Linked DNA regions of Homo sapiens: region 2 is linked to region 1. The links are contacts of gene promoters, found by promoter capture Hi-C in blood cells and fetal thymus (Javierre and others, 2016). All regions are on one chromosome and are shown on one strand. The core of a region is centred on a gene start or on the middle of the fragment in contact, and the rest is flanking DNA. Distances in the headings are between cores, read along the strand shown.

Region 1 (6,294 bases), core at 2,677-5,176:
AGCTCTCTACTGTTGGGTACAAGATAGGCTGCACTATCCGACCTTCTTGTCATGATTCTTTGGAGCCACACAACTAATCCTGGTTAATTCTTTGTGAGGCCATATGATGTATGGCATTTCTGGGCCATAGCATTTAAATGTCTGCATGAAACCCTCCAGAGTGATCTTTATTTTTGCCATAACAACATGAAACATTCAAGATGGCAACTGTTCCATTAGCCAGGGACCTGGAGTGACAGACATGGAACAGACCAGCTGAACTGCAATGGATTCAAACCATAACCAAGAAAACGTTTGCTGTTACAGGCCACTAAAAAATTGGAATTGTTACTCCAGCACATTGCCTATCTTGACTGATAAACAAATTTGTTCTGTTTGGCTGCAACTGGCAGGACGAAGACTAACGGTTGGAAGTTTCAGGAAGACTAATTCTGTGCAATATAAGGTAAAAAAATATATATAAGGTAAAAACATAATAAAGTATATAAAGATGAAATACTTTTGAAATTATCCATTCACTTGCACAATATATAGTGAACTCTATTCTCTGGTAAGTACGGTATAGGTAAAAATCCTTGCCTTAATGGCGGTAAGTAGTAAGTTCCCCTTCACACCCAAAATATCTGCATTGAATGGCCTCTAAAGATTTGACAGAACAAATTAACTTTAAAAATACCTTCCAACCTAGAGCTTTAGGATCTCTGATTCCTCTGGTCTTAAGAGAAAAATATGTACATATATATATATATTTTTTCTTCCTCAAGTATTTCTTTGATTCAAACCACTAACTGATCCATTGTCTTTTCACATTTTGATGTCTTTTTTCCAGCAAATAACTTCCTTCAAGGCCAATGCTGTTTTATCCTTTCCCTTGATCTTTCTTCTAATATTTAGTAGGCAATATTTTATTGTCTATTCTTTTAAGGAAATAACCAGTGCAGCTTTTGATACCAGCTACTATTATTGGCCATTTGATATGTTCCAGATTTGTCTTTCAGTCATTTAAGTCACATTTGGACTTGTTAAAAAAATCTAGTAGCACAAATGTATTATTGTGTTAGTTCATTTGAGGTGCTACAACAAATTATCTTTGACTGGGTAATTTATAAGCAACAGAAATTTATTGCTCACAGTTCTGGAAGCTGAGGAGTCCAAGATTACAGCACCAGCAGATTCAGTATCTGGTGAAGGCTCACTCCTTGCTTCACAGATGGCACTTTTGTTGCTGTGTCCTCACACAGTGGAAGGGGCAAGGTAGCTAGATTCAGCCTGTCTTACAAAGGCACTCCTGTCACTCATGAGGGTTGAAGCCTTCATGACTTAATCACTTCCCAAAGGCCCTACTTCTTAATACCATCACTTTTGATATTAGGTTCTAACACATGAACCCCAATATTGGGGGAACACTAACATTCAGACCATAGCAACTAACCAAATAATCCAGATTAAATGCCCCTTTCTTCTGAAAAATGATCTTAGCCTTGTGCTATGAAATTTGTGGCCAACTACAATATTTTATTAACATCTGAGCTGTAAGGCTTAAGAGTTTATCAAACTATGTCATTTAATGCACTGCACCCAGAATTGCATAATTCTGTATTCTAACAGAGCCCATGTGCTTTCTATACAAGACTATTGGGAGGAAAAAGCAAATTCAAAAAATGAGGGGCAAAATGGTCTCGGTTCAACTCAGAGGAGCATATCATACTTTCAGTTATAGGGGCTTGGCTGATAACTTGGGGAAGCAGATGAGTATATAAGAGTGTAAGAAAGAAAAAAAAACCTTTTTTAAAAATTTCAAATTTCTGTTCAGCTTCATTTCAGGCTTTCAGAATTGGAAAATCAACTGCCTGCTACAATAAATTACTGTTAAGCAGTAATTAAATACCGAGAATGTATTTTTTTCCATTCCAAACCTGATGTCTTTCTCAGACACAGATATTGTTACTGGTTAGGAAATGCAGCATTTTGGTAAATTAAGGCAGGAGGATTTAATGTCTCCTGGGACCTGTGGGGACAGAAAGTGATCCAAGAAGGAAAACGTTTTACTATGTTTTGCTCATTATAATCATTTATACCTTTTTGCTTTGCTTTACAAAACTAGGAGTTGTGGTGGGCACTTGTATCTTTAAAAAGGAGGGTTGGTTCCCTAAAAGAACCCTAATTCATAATTTTAAAAAATTCCTATATGTTTGGAATTGTGGTCTCGGCATAAAATGATGATCAACTGAAAAAAGATGAATAACTTCCAGTGAATTCAATAACCATGGATGAGGGGAAAAAAGCAGCATGAATACATGCTGTATTCTCCTTTATTTAGAAAAAGCACACAAAAATACAGCAGAGTTGATGTGTTTGTCACCAGGGCTTGAAAGTCGAATCAACCACTGTGTAAAAGATAAAATAAGACTGCACGGATATCAGGATTTTCCCAGCGTGCTTTATTCATAGCCATCTGACACAACAGGACCTAACAGAGCTTTTAGGAAAAACTGAATTCTCAGCCCACAATCACTTTCCAGGAACTTCCCTGCAAACAGTGCTGTGCGCTGGCAGGATGGAAATCTTAGCAATCTCCCTCCTGCTTCCATAGTTTCCTCCTCTCTAAATAAAATTATTTATGGGGACTTAATGAGAGAGCAAGCCTTGTGTGAAAGGAATTCAAGAAAGTGCGGCTTCTAAAAATACACCTAGGCAGCTCTACAGTCCTTATTGTTACAACCTGACGTTTTGCAGTTCATGCCATGAACCTAACTACACTTCTTGCCAAATACACACAAGCGTACAAAGAAGAGGAAAAGTAAAAACTATGTTACTATGTTTTATCTTTCTGCAATCCCTTTGAGTAAACAGTAGTAATTTTCTGTTGACATACTCAATGCAAATTTCCCAAAGGCTACACAATACAAAACAAAAGACCTGTTAGCTTCCTCAGAGCTGGGGGGAGGAGAGGCAGGGGGAGAGAAATAAAGTTGATGGAGCTCCAGTTTCTCCTAAGCCTGCAGTCCTGAGCCTCCAGTCACCCTAGTCTTTTTGTAGAGATTTTTTGAGTTTCAGTCTCCACTTGGGAAGGTTCCTTGGCCCCTTCTCTCCCAATGTCAATAAAACCCTCATCTCTCCCGCTTTGCCCCCAGCTTTTTGGGGAAATTGGACCTTGCCTAGGCGTCTTGTTCCAGTGGGTTGAAAAGTACAGCTGGTGATGTGAGGATAAATATTTAAACTAATGGGCTGGGTCACAGCGTGGGGGTCTTCAAGAGAGGGCCTCCTCCTCCTTCCGCCACGTGCTCCTCACTTGGGGTGCAGGGCTCCTGGACAAGGGGCTAAGACGGACGAGGGTGGGATGAAGGGAGATGGACAGACCAGACTGTAAGTGAAGGAGGCCCTCTAGGAAACATCGTCTCGACCGAACATTGACGGAGAAAAAAAAAATGGCCCAAATGCCCCTAGTGGGGAAGCATACACCCCACGCAGGCTGGGTTGGGGTGGGGGTGCTTCGCGGCCTCTCACCTGACTTCCTCCTCCGCCTGCACACACACTACAGTAACCCCCTCTACTCACCCCCCAAAACCCAGCCAAACAACAAGCAACAAGAGGAAGCCGCAGGCGACAAGAGGAGGAGTGCGCGTGTTGGGGGCCCCCGGAGAGGTGAGGGGGCAGGGTTGGCGGGCGACGAGAACCGCGCCGCGCACCCCAAGCGCACCCCCAAGCGCCCACACTTACCCCTCGAGGCTGAGGGTCCTGTCTTCCGCGCCAACCCCCGTGTGCGCCCCCTGGCCCGCCCTCGCCCCTCCGGCCCGCCGCCCCCCACACCCCGGCCGGCGCGCTGGGAGGGAGCCCGGGAGCGGTGCGCAGCAGCGGCGGCGGCGGCGGCGGCTCGGGCTCGGCTCGGCTCGGGCTTCAGTGCGCCTAGTGTCGCCAGCGGCCGCCGAGGCTCCCACCGCCAGGGGGAGAAGCCGGGCGGGCGCTGGGGAGGCGGGCCGGGCCCTGGCCGCCCCGCTGGCCAGCCCGCGCCGCACAAGCTCCGAAGCGGCGGCTACGCGGGGTCCGCCGAGCCCCCGGGCGCAGCGTGCCCGGTCCGAAGCGCCACGTCTGGATGCGCGTCCCGGGTGGCTGCGGGCTCCCGCGGGGGACGCCCCGGCCGCTCCGGTGCGCCTCCAGACTGCAGGCGCCGCGACCGACGAGACGAGAGCAGCTCCCGCCGGCCCCTTCCCCCTCCCGCCCCCGCCGCCGCCCCCTCCCCCTTCTCCCCCCCCCGCCCGTTAACATCTCCTCCCTCCCCCTCCTTCTCTTCCTTCCCTTGGCCCCGCGCGCTCGCTCGCTCGCTCCTCGCCTCGCTCTCCCCTTTAAACGCCCACTTCGTATGGGGAAAGAGGACAACTTGAAGTCAAGTTGCAATTAACTTCCGCGGCAGCCGCAGCTCCGGCGGCGGCGGCGGCGGCAGGAGAGGCAGAAGCCGCCGCCTCGGAAGTCCGACGCCGGCGCGCCCGCCCGGGGAGCCGTTCTTGGTTTCAGGCCCGCACTCGACAGCCACCGCCGCCCCCAACGTCCATGCCTGAGTGAGTTCTGCTCTTTTGCCTCCCTTTTCCCCTTGCTACTCTTGCTGTTTTATCTCTGTCCCTCTTTTTCCGGAATCAATCCAAACTTCTCCGTAGCACCCACTCCTCGTCCCCTATTGGGGCGGCTGGGCTCCCCTCTCGTGGGCGCAGGGCTTCAACGGTCTTCCGAGCCCCTTTTCTCACGCAGACGGACCTTGGAGGGGTGGGCTGGTAGAGTAGGGGAGAGCGGTCGGGATGGGGGATTTGAAGATGCCATTCGTTTTCTGTCTGGGTGTGGACACACCACCACACCTGCCCAATAGACCCTGGCTGAACAAACTCCTTCAGGTCACCGGTATGGCCCCTTTTAGAAAAGGAAAGGGGAGTGGAAAAGACCGAAGGAAGCAAATGGGGAAAAGGGGAGCCTCTCGGTGCGTTCTGGAGCCGGGCGGGCAGTAAGGTGCCTGGAGGAGTGGGCTGCGGGAGTGGTAATGTTCCCCCACCGGATCGCGAGTCTGCTCAGCATCCTTTCCCGGTCCATCTCCGCCTCCCTCCGCTCCCTGCCTGCGCGGCTGATTGTAAGCATCGGCGAAGAGGGGCCTGGGAAGTTTGTGGCAACTTCTGCATCCCGGGAGCTACTCGGGCGCCGGGGCGCTCAAGTTGGAGCCCGGAGTTTGAAAGCCGCGGCACTCCTCATTTCGAGCCCTCGCTGGCTGTAGCGAGGCCGGTCCTGGAGAGGCTGCTGGCGTGAATGTGGGTTTGGAGTTGGGCAAGAGGCAGAAGAAAGGGCCGTCCTCTTAGCAGGGGCCGGGACATCACAGGTGCAGCCTCGCAGTCCACACCGTGTTTCCCTCCTGCTGTCCAGACCCGAGCGCGGTGGCCTTTTCCTATTGCTCCAGTGCTAAGGCTCCCGGGCCGGCAGAACCGGGGTTTGGGAAACCACGACGAGAAGGACGAAGCAGGCAGGTGGCAGGTCCGGGGAGTGCCACGTGCTTACTGGGGAAACGCAGTTTCCTCTTGGGATGACCTCAGAAGACCAACAGGGGAAAGGGGCATAGGGATCTCCTTGAAAGTTTTGGCCTTGGCCTCCACTGAGGTGTTGCAAATTTCACTAACAAATGTCAACCACAGGGTCCTCTCTCAAAGTGTCCTGGTTGGCAACTTTGACCTCTGCGCCCTTCCTTGGCGAACTTTCTCAGTGGCATTCCGGACTTACAAGCAAATGTTCTAAGACTTGGACTCCACATGGTTATAAAAGAGACAGGGAAAACAGAAGGATGCCCTATTCCCCAGAGAGAACCTTACTGCTCTGACTGACTGGGTTTCCATGTTTGCATCCTTGGAGGCCAGGGGACCTGACTTTCTCAAGGGGGTGGCGGGTAGGGTAAGAATGAGTAAAATGTTACCGCTCGGTGTCAGGTTTTGTCCTAAGCAATCTGAAATTTACGGTGTTTGTACTGCTGACAGAGTAACTCATCCCGTTGAAACTTAGTTGAAATTTACACTCTATCCAAAGTGGATTTTTCTGAGATGTCAGGAATGTGAGATTTATTCTGTGGTCAAATGTAGCTGCAAAAATCAAAAACAAAAACCCATACTTTAAGTCTGAAGAAAACCAAGGTTGAGGTGTTTGCTCTAAAAACCTCTCATCTCCTGTATGGTACTACTGCTATGATTTAGCAGTAGTCCTCTATTTCTATTGCATATTATTTTCTTAGAACAGTAGTACATTCATATACTGGCTGCTCCAGTCTGCTGG
Region 2 (5,697 bases), core at 1,945-4,444, 370 kb before region 1:
AAATAAGTTTGTCTGTCTATCTATCTATGATCTACCTATGATCTAACTATTATCTATCATTCTCTATGTTTAATTTTTAACTTTATGAGACAGAAAGCAGGATAAAACCTCCAATGAAAAAACAGAATGCTCATAATGCAGAGGGAAAACTATCTTGGTAAGGAAAATATTTCCATTTTATATTTTTAAGAGGTCAATGTAAACAATAGTGAGTTAAAATATTTTTTACATGCTGCACAGTGCCACTTGCCAGTGTTGTGTTAATTAATGCAAATGTAGAACACTGCATCAGTTCTTTCTTGAAATCTACCAATGTACATCTGCACAGTAAATATGTTAGTGAATAACCCTAAGCCACTGTCAGAAGATTCTTTTCTCAACTGCTAATCCTAGAAAATCATTGCCAGCATTCTAGGCATATTTTCATATGTTCAGGAAAATCAAAAGGAACCAGTAGAAGCCTACAGAAGGGAGTGTGGCACTTTCCCATTCTGTATGCACAGGCTGAATTGCCCAGTAGTAAGCAGAAAATAGAAAGAAAATTAACATTTATTGAGCAGCTACTAAAGAAGTGACTTATATGCTAGTCAGTTAATTTAATTTTTATAAAATATGTACTATTGAAGTGTCTGGTAAGATGTCTTAGTTTTCCAAAATGGCTGAGAAGAGAATAAGTGAGAAAGGTTAAAGCAAAGATTTTTTTGGCAGTATTCCGTGGGAGGGTACCAGCTCATTATTCCATGATTGCCATTTTTACTAATACAGAAGGATTTTAGTATTGGCAGTCTTTTCTTCTAGTGAATAGAAAACAAAAACTTAACATCTAGGTATTCAAAATATCTTTTTCCCACAACACTGTTAACGAGAAATCTGTGTCTGCTAACTTGGATTCTGAGTGTTTCTTGTGGAGAATCATGAAAGTAATTGAGAGAGAGAACAGTAAGTCACTGAAAATTGAAAACAGAGGGTTAGCGGCAGAAGAGAAATTAACAGATACAAATAGGAAAAAACCAGAGTGGAGAAGACAAAAGCCAATGCCGATTGGGTTGTGTGTGTTTGTGGTGGGGGAGAAATAAAGGGTAAGAAGGAGGACATTCAGAGAATGTCCCAGAGAGACTGAGAACCTAACCGACATAAAAGAAATAGATATTAAGGTACAAGAACTTAAAAACATGATGATATCAAACGATATCCTCTTTCCACATTTCCAATTTAAATTGCATTTCAAATTAAATGTGGGATTAATTTTTAAAGTGTATCTCAGTTTTAGACTGGAACATAGATTAATTCAGTTTTATGTAGTTTACTTTGGCATTATAAATTACATCATTTCTGTGAGGATAATGATATTCTTCCTCTATATATCTCTGGATATTCCCTTCCAGGTTTTTTTTTTTTCAGAGATGTGGTCTCATTCTCTTGCTCAGACTGGAATGCAGTGGCAATATCATAGCTCACTACAGCCTCAAACTCTTGGGCTTAAGTGATCCTCCTGCCTCAGCCCCCTGAGTAATTGGGTCTACATGCATGTACCACCACACCTGGCTAAATTCCCCCAATTTTTAATTGGTCAATCTGTTTATGATCTTTGAAGATTTCATATTCTTGACTCTAACCATGTATAGATAGAAAGAAAAAGAATACATCATATTTGCATTAAGATTTAAATGAATACGAAATTTCCATTCTGAGCAAGACTTTGGAAAAATATTGAACTTATACTAAGCTAAACATAAATCTATTACAAAATTGAAGTGGCAATGTGAGGAGCTGTGTAGATGCCCTCTTCAGTGGAACAACCTACCTGGTCAAAGTTTTTTAAGAAAAAAATTAAGGTCTCTAGAAATTTTATGCTAAGGGCATGCAGAAAATGGAGAAACATTTTATTCAAGAAAAAATTACCAAATCTTGGTAAAACTAGTAAGTCTGTGACACTGAACCATGACCAGATCTCCTCCCTGCCCCAGCCCCACCTGACTCCAGTTGAGTGTGGTGGAAGCTCTACTCCTGGTGGCTTTAAACAAAATCACAGGGCTCTGCCTCCTCTTAGCTCTCAGTCTAGGGCCATGACTTCTTCCCTGGAGCATCAGGACACCAGTATTTTTCCTCTCTCCAAGCTTTAGCTGGCAGAAGCTGTGTTCAAGGCAAGTGTGGCCTGGAGTTTTAGGGCTCCCTTTTTCTGCCCAGTCCCCACTTGTATGGTGGAGCTTTGTCCAATATGTGTGCAACTTAAGAGTACTGAGACCTCTTTACTCTTACCTCAGCTCACTAACAGAGATACCTCCTAGAACCAATGACCCCCTAATAGAGTAGGGATGTCACCCTTAAAGAAGCTGGGCACTTTCCATTTTTTAACTCCGGAGCAATAATCCTGACGTTCTGTCCACGGGGAGGGCAGGCTGTAAGAGCAGAGAGGTCCATAGCTCTCCATAAAGTGACCAGCTTTATTTGGATTAGAGCATAGGGAAATTCAAACCTTAGGTCATTGTTGAAAACAGTGGAGATTTTAGTGATGAGAAATTAAAAGAAGTCTAGTAGCTTCATGATATCAACAAGTGAAGTGGAGACTAGCCAGAAGCTTAATAAGAAAATAGTTAACTAAGAAGAACACTCTAGTGATCTGAGAAAGTCTAAAAGACAGGCCACGAATAATATCTGTGCAAACCCATGGTTAATTGGATTGGACAATGGAGCAACTTATGCCCCAGGCATTGTTGAAAACAATAGAGCAATAAGCTAGGAATTCATGGACACTAAGAGCTGTGTGTGATACCAATACAGGCAGACCAGCCAGAAGCTTAACAGGAAAATCAGGCAAAGAGACAATCAAAGAGCCAGGATAAAATCATGATCACCACTGAAGGTGTGCGGGTGTGGCGGACAGGATCATGACAATACACATGCCCAAGGCTGCACCCTCTGAGGAGAAACATGTAAATAAGACTGCACACTGTGGAAATAGACTTCACAGATTTAGTTCATCTAAGTTACTAAACAAATAAACAAAGGGTCAAGCAAACACAGTAACAACTCCTGGAGCAGGAAAGTCAATAACCAAAGTATCTACAATATATTATCTAAAATGTCTAGTTTCCAGTAAAAACTCATGAGACATACAAATAAATAGGAAAGCATGACCCATACACAGAAAAAAAGCAGCAAACAGAAGCTGCCTGTGAAAGGAACAAGATGTCAGATTTTAAAAAGACAAAAATGTAGCCATTATAACATGTTTAAAGAACTAAAGGAAACTATGCTTAAAGCATAAAAGAAAGGTATATCTCATCATATCTTGATGAGATCATAATGTCGTATCAAATAGAGCATAGCAACAAAAAGACAAAATTATTATATTTTTTAAATGAGTCAAATGGTAATTGTGTAGTTGAAGAGTAAAATAAGCAAAATTGTAAATCACTAGAGGGGATTGACAATAGATTGGAGCTGGCAGAAAAGAGAATTAGAAAGCCTAAAGATAGATCAGTAGAGATTATGCAATCTGAAGAACACAGAGGAAAAAAAGAATAAATAAAAATGAGCAGAGTCCCAGAGAAATATCAGACATTTTCAAGTGCACTAACATAAGCTTAATGGGAATACCACTACAAGAGGGGAGAGGGAAAGTACAAACAAAAGAATTTGAAGTAATAAAGGCTGAAATCTTCCTAAATTTGATGAAAAACATTAATCTGCACATACCCCAAAGTTCAAGAAACTCTAAGTAGGAAAAATGTAAAGAAATCCACACCTGTATACCCACAACTGTATCTATACATCATAGTTAAAATGTTGAAAGATTAAAAACAAGGAGAAAATTTTGAAAAGAGTAAGAGATAAAAGTGATCATCATGTAAAAGTGATACCTGAAGATTAATAGTTGACTTCTCATCAGGAACAATGGATGTCAAAAGGCAATTTAAAATGCTAAAAGTTCAAAGATATGAAATCAACCTAAATGACCACCAATGGCAGATTGGATAAAGAAAATGTGGCATGTCTACACCATGGAATACTGTGCAGCCATAAAAAAGAGTGAAATCATGTCTTTCATGGGAACATGGATGGAGCTGGAGGCCATTGTCCTTAGGAAACTAATGCAGGAACATAAAACCAGATACCACATGTTCTTACTTGTAAGTGGGAGCTAAATGATGAGAACTCATGGACACAAAGAGGGCAACAACAGACACTGAGTTTTACATAAGAGTGAAGGGTGGGAGGAGGGAGAGGATCAGAAAAATTAATTATTGGATACTAGCCGTAGTACATGGGTGATGAAATAATCTGTACAACAAACCCCCATGAGATGAGTTTACCTATATAACAAGTCTGCACATGCACCCCTGAACCTAAAATACAACTTTAACAAAAAAAGAAAAAACTTACTAAAAATTAAAAAAATTTCCAACCCCAAGAATCTTATTTCCAGCAAAATTATCTTTAAAAAATGAAAGTGAAACAAATACATTCCAAGATAAACAAAAACTGAGAGAATCTGTTGCTAGCAAATCTGTCTTAGAAGGAGTTTTAAAGAAATTTCTTCAGACATGAAAAAACAAAGCATGGTAGTAAAGATAATGATCTAGCATAAAGCAATATGTATATAATTGTATTGTTGGGCCCATAGCATGTATAATATACTTGATGACAGCAGCACAAAGGAGGTGGGCAGGAGCATAGTTATATTGGAGTAAGAAAATAATACCAGGTTATAACTAATATCCACAGGAATAAATGAAGGGATGAAAAAGATAAAGAAGAAGGCTAACATAACAGTCTCCTCTAATATATACTTGTTCTCATTTCTCTTTGGAATTTATTTAGAAAACACTATTATAACAATGTATTGTGCTTAAAACATATATGGACATAATATGTGTAACAATCATAGCACAGAAAAGAAAAGAGAATTTCACAGGAACAATGTCAGTGTAAATCTAAAATAGAGTCAGGTAATGGAGCAGAATTGAAAGTCCAGAAATAAACCCTAATATTTACCGTCAATTGATTTTTTACAAGGGTGCTAAGATAATTCAATGAGGAAATGATAATCTTTACAACAGATGGTGTTGGATAACTGGATAGTCACACTCAAAAGAATGAAGTTGGACCCTTTTCTCAAAAAATTAACTCAGAATGGGTTCTAAGAGCTAAAACCATACAACTCTTAGAATAAAATAGAGAAATAATTTTTTATGAACATGAGTTAGGCAAAATAAAACACCAAAACAATAGTGAAAAAAGAAAAAATATACAAATTGGAATTTGCCAAAATTAAAAACTTTTGTGCCCCAAAGGATACCATCAAGAAAGTGCAAAGATACCTTATGGAGTGTGAAGAAATGTTTGCAAATTTTGTATCTAATAAGAGAATTATATCTAGAATAAATTAAGAAATCTTACAACTCAACAATAAAAAAACAAATAACCCAATTTTTAAAATAGGCAACAGATACAAATAGATGTTCTCCAGAAAAAAAATCTGTGAATGATAATAGGCACATGAAAAGATGCTCAACATAATTATTCATTATGGAAATACAAATCAAAACCACAATAAAATAGAGGGCATACCTCACTCATTTTACTATGTTTTGCTTCATGCTGCTTCAAAGAGTTGTGGCAAGCCTTCATCCAGCAAGTTTATTGGCACTATTTTTCCAAAAGCACGAGCTCACTTCATGTCTCTGTATCACA

What was found. The method cuts DNA at HindIII sites, captures the fragments that hold promoters and counts their contacts. A CHiCAGO score of 5 or more calls a contact.
Region 2: a contact is called between a fragment that was not itself captured here and the fragment with the promoter of SATB1-AS1 in region 1, in 5 of 17 cell types (fetal thymus, activated CD4 T cells, total CD8 T cells and 2 more). The highest score is 8.3, in fetal thymus.

What each region holds. Positions count from the first base shown.
Region 1 is chr3:18,442,869-18,449,162 of GRCh38, reverse strand. It overlaps SATB1-AS1 (SATB1 antisense RNA 1), which reads right to left and starts at 3,926. Exons shown (of 7, transcript NR_125803.1): 1 at 3,721-3,926. It also overlaps a transcript of SATB1 not described here. RefSeq lists a silencer at 3,801-4,020. The HindIII fragment of the contact is 8,267 bases long and covers 1-6,294 here.
Region 2 is chr3:18,815,652-18,821,348 of GRCh38, reverse strand. No RefSeq gene overlaps it. Among named protein-coding and RNA genes, the nearest start is that of KCNH8, 330 kb to the left of the region's middle. The HindIII fragment of the contact is 789 bases long and covers 2,800-3,588 here.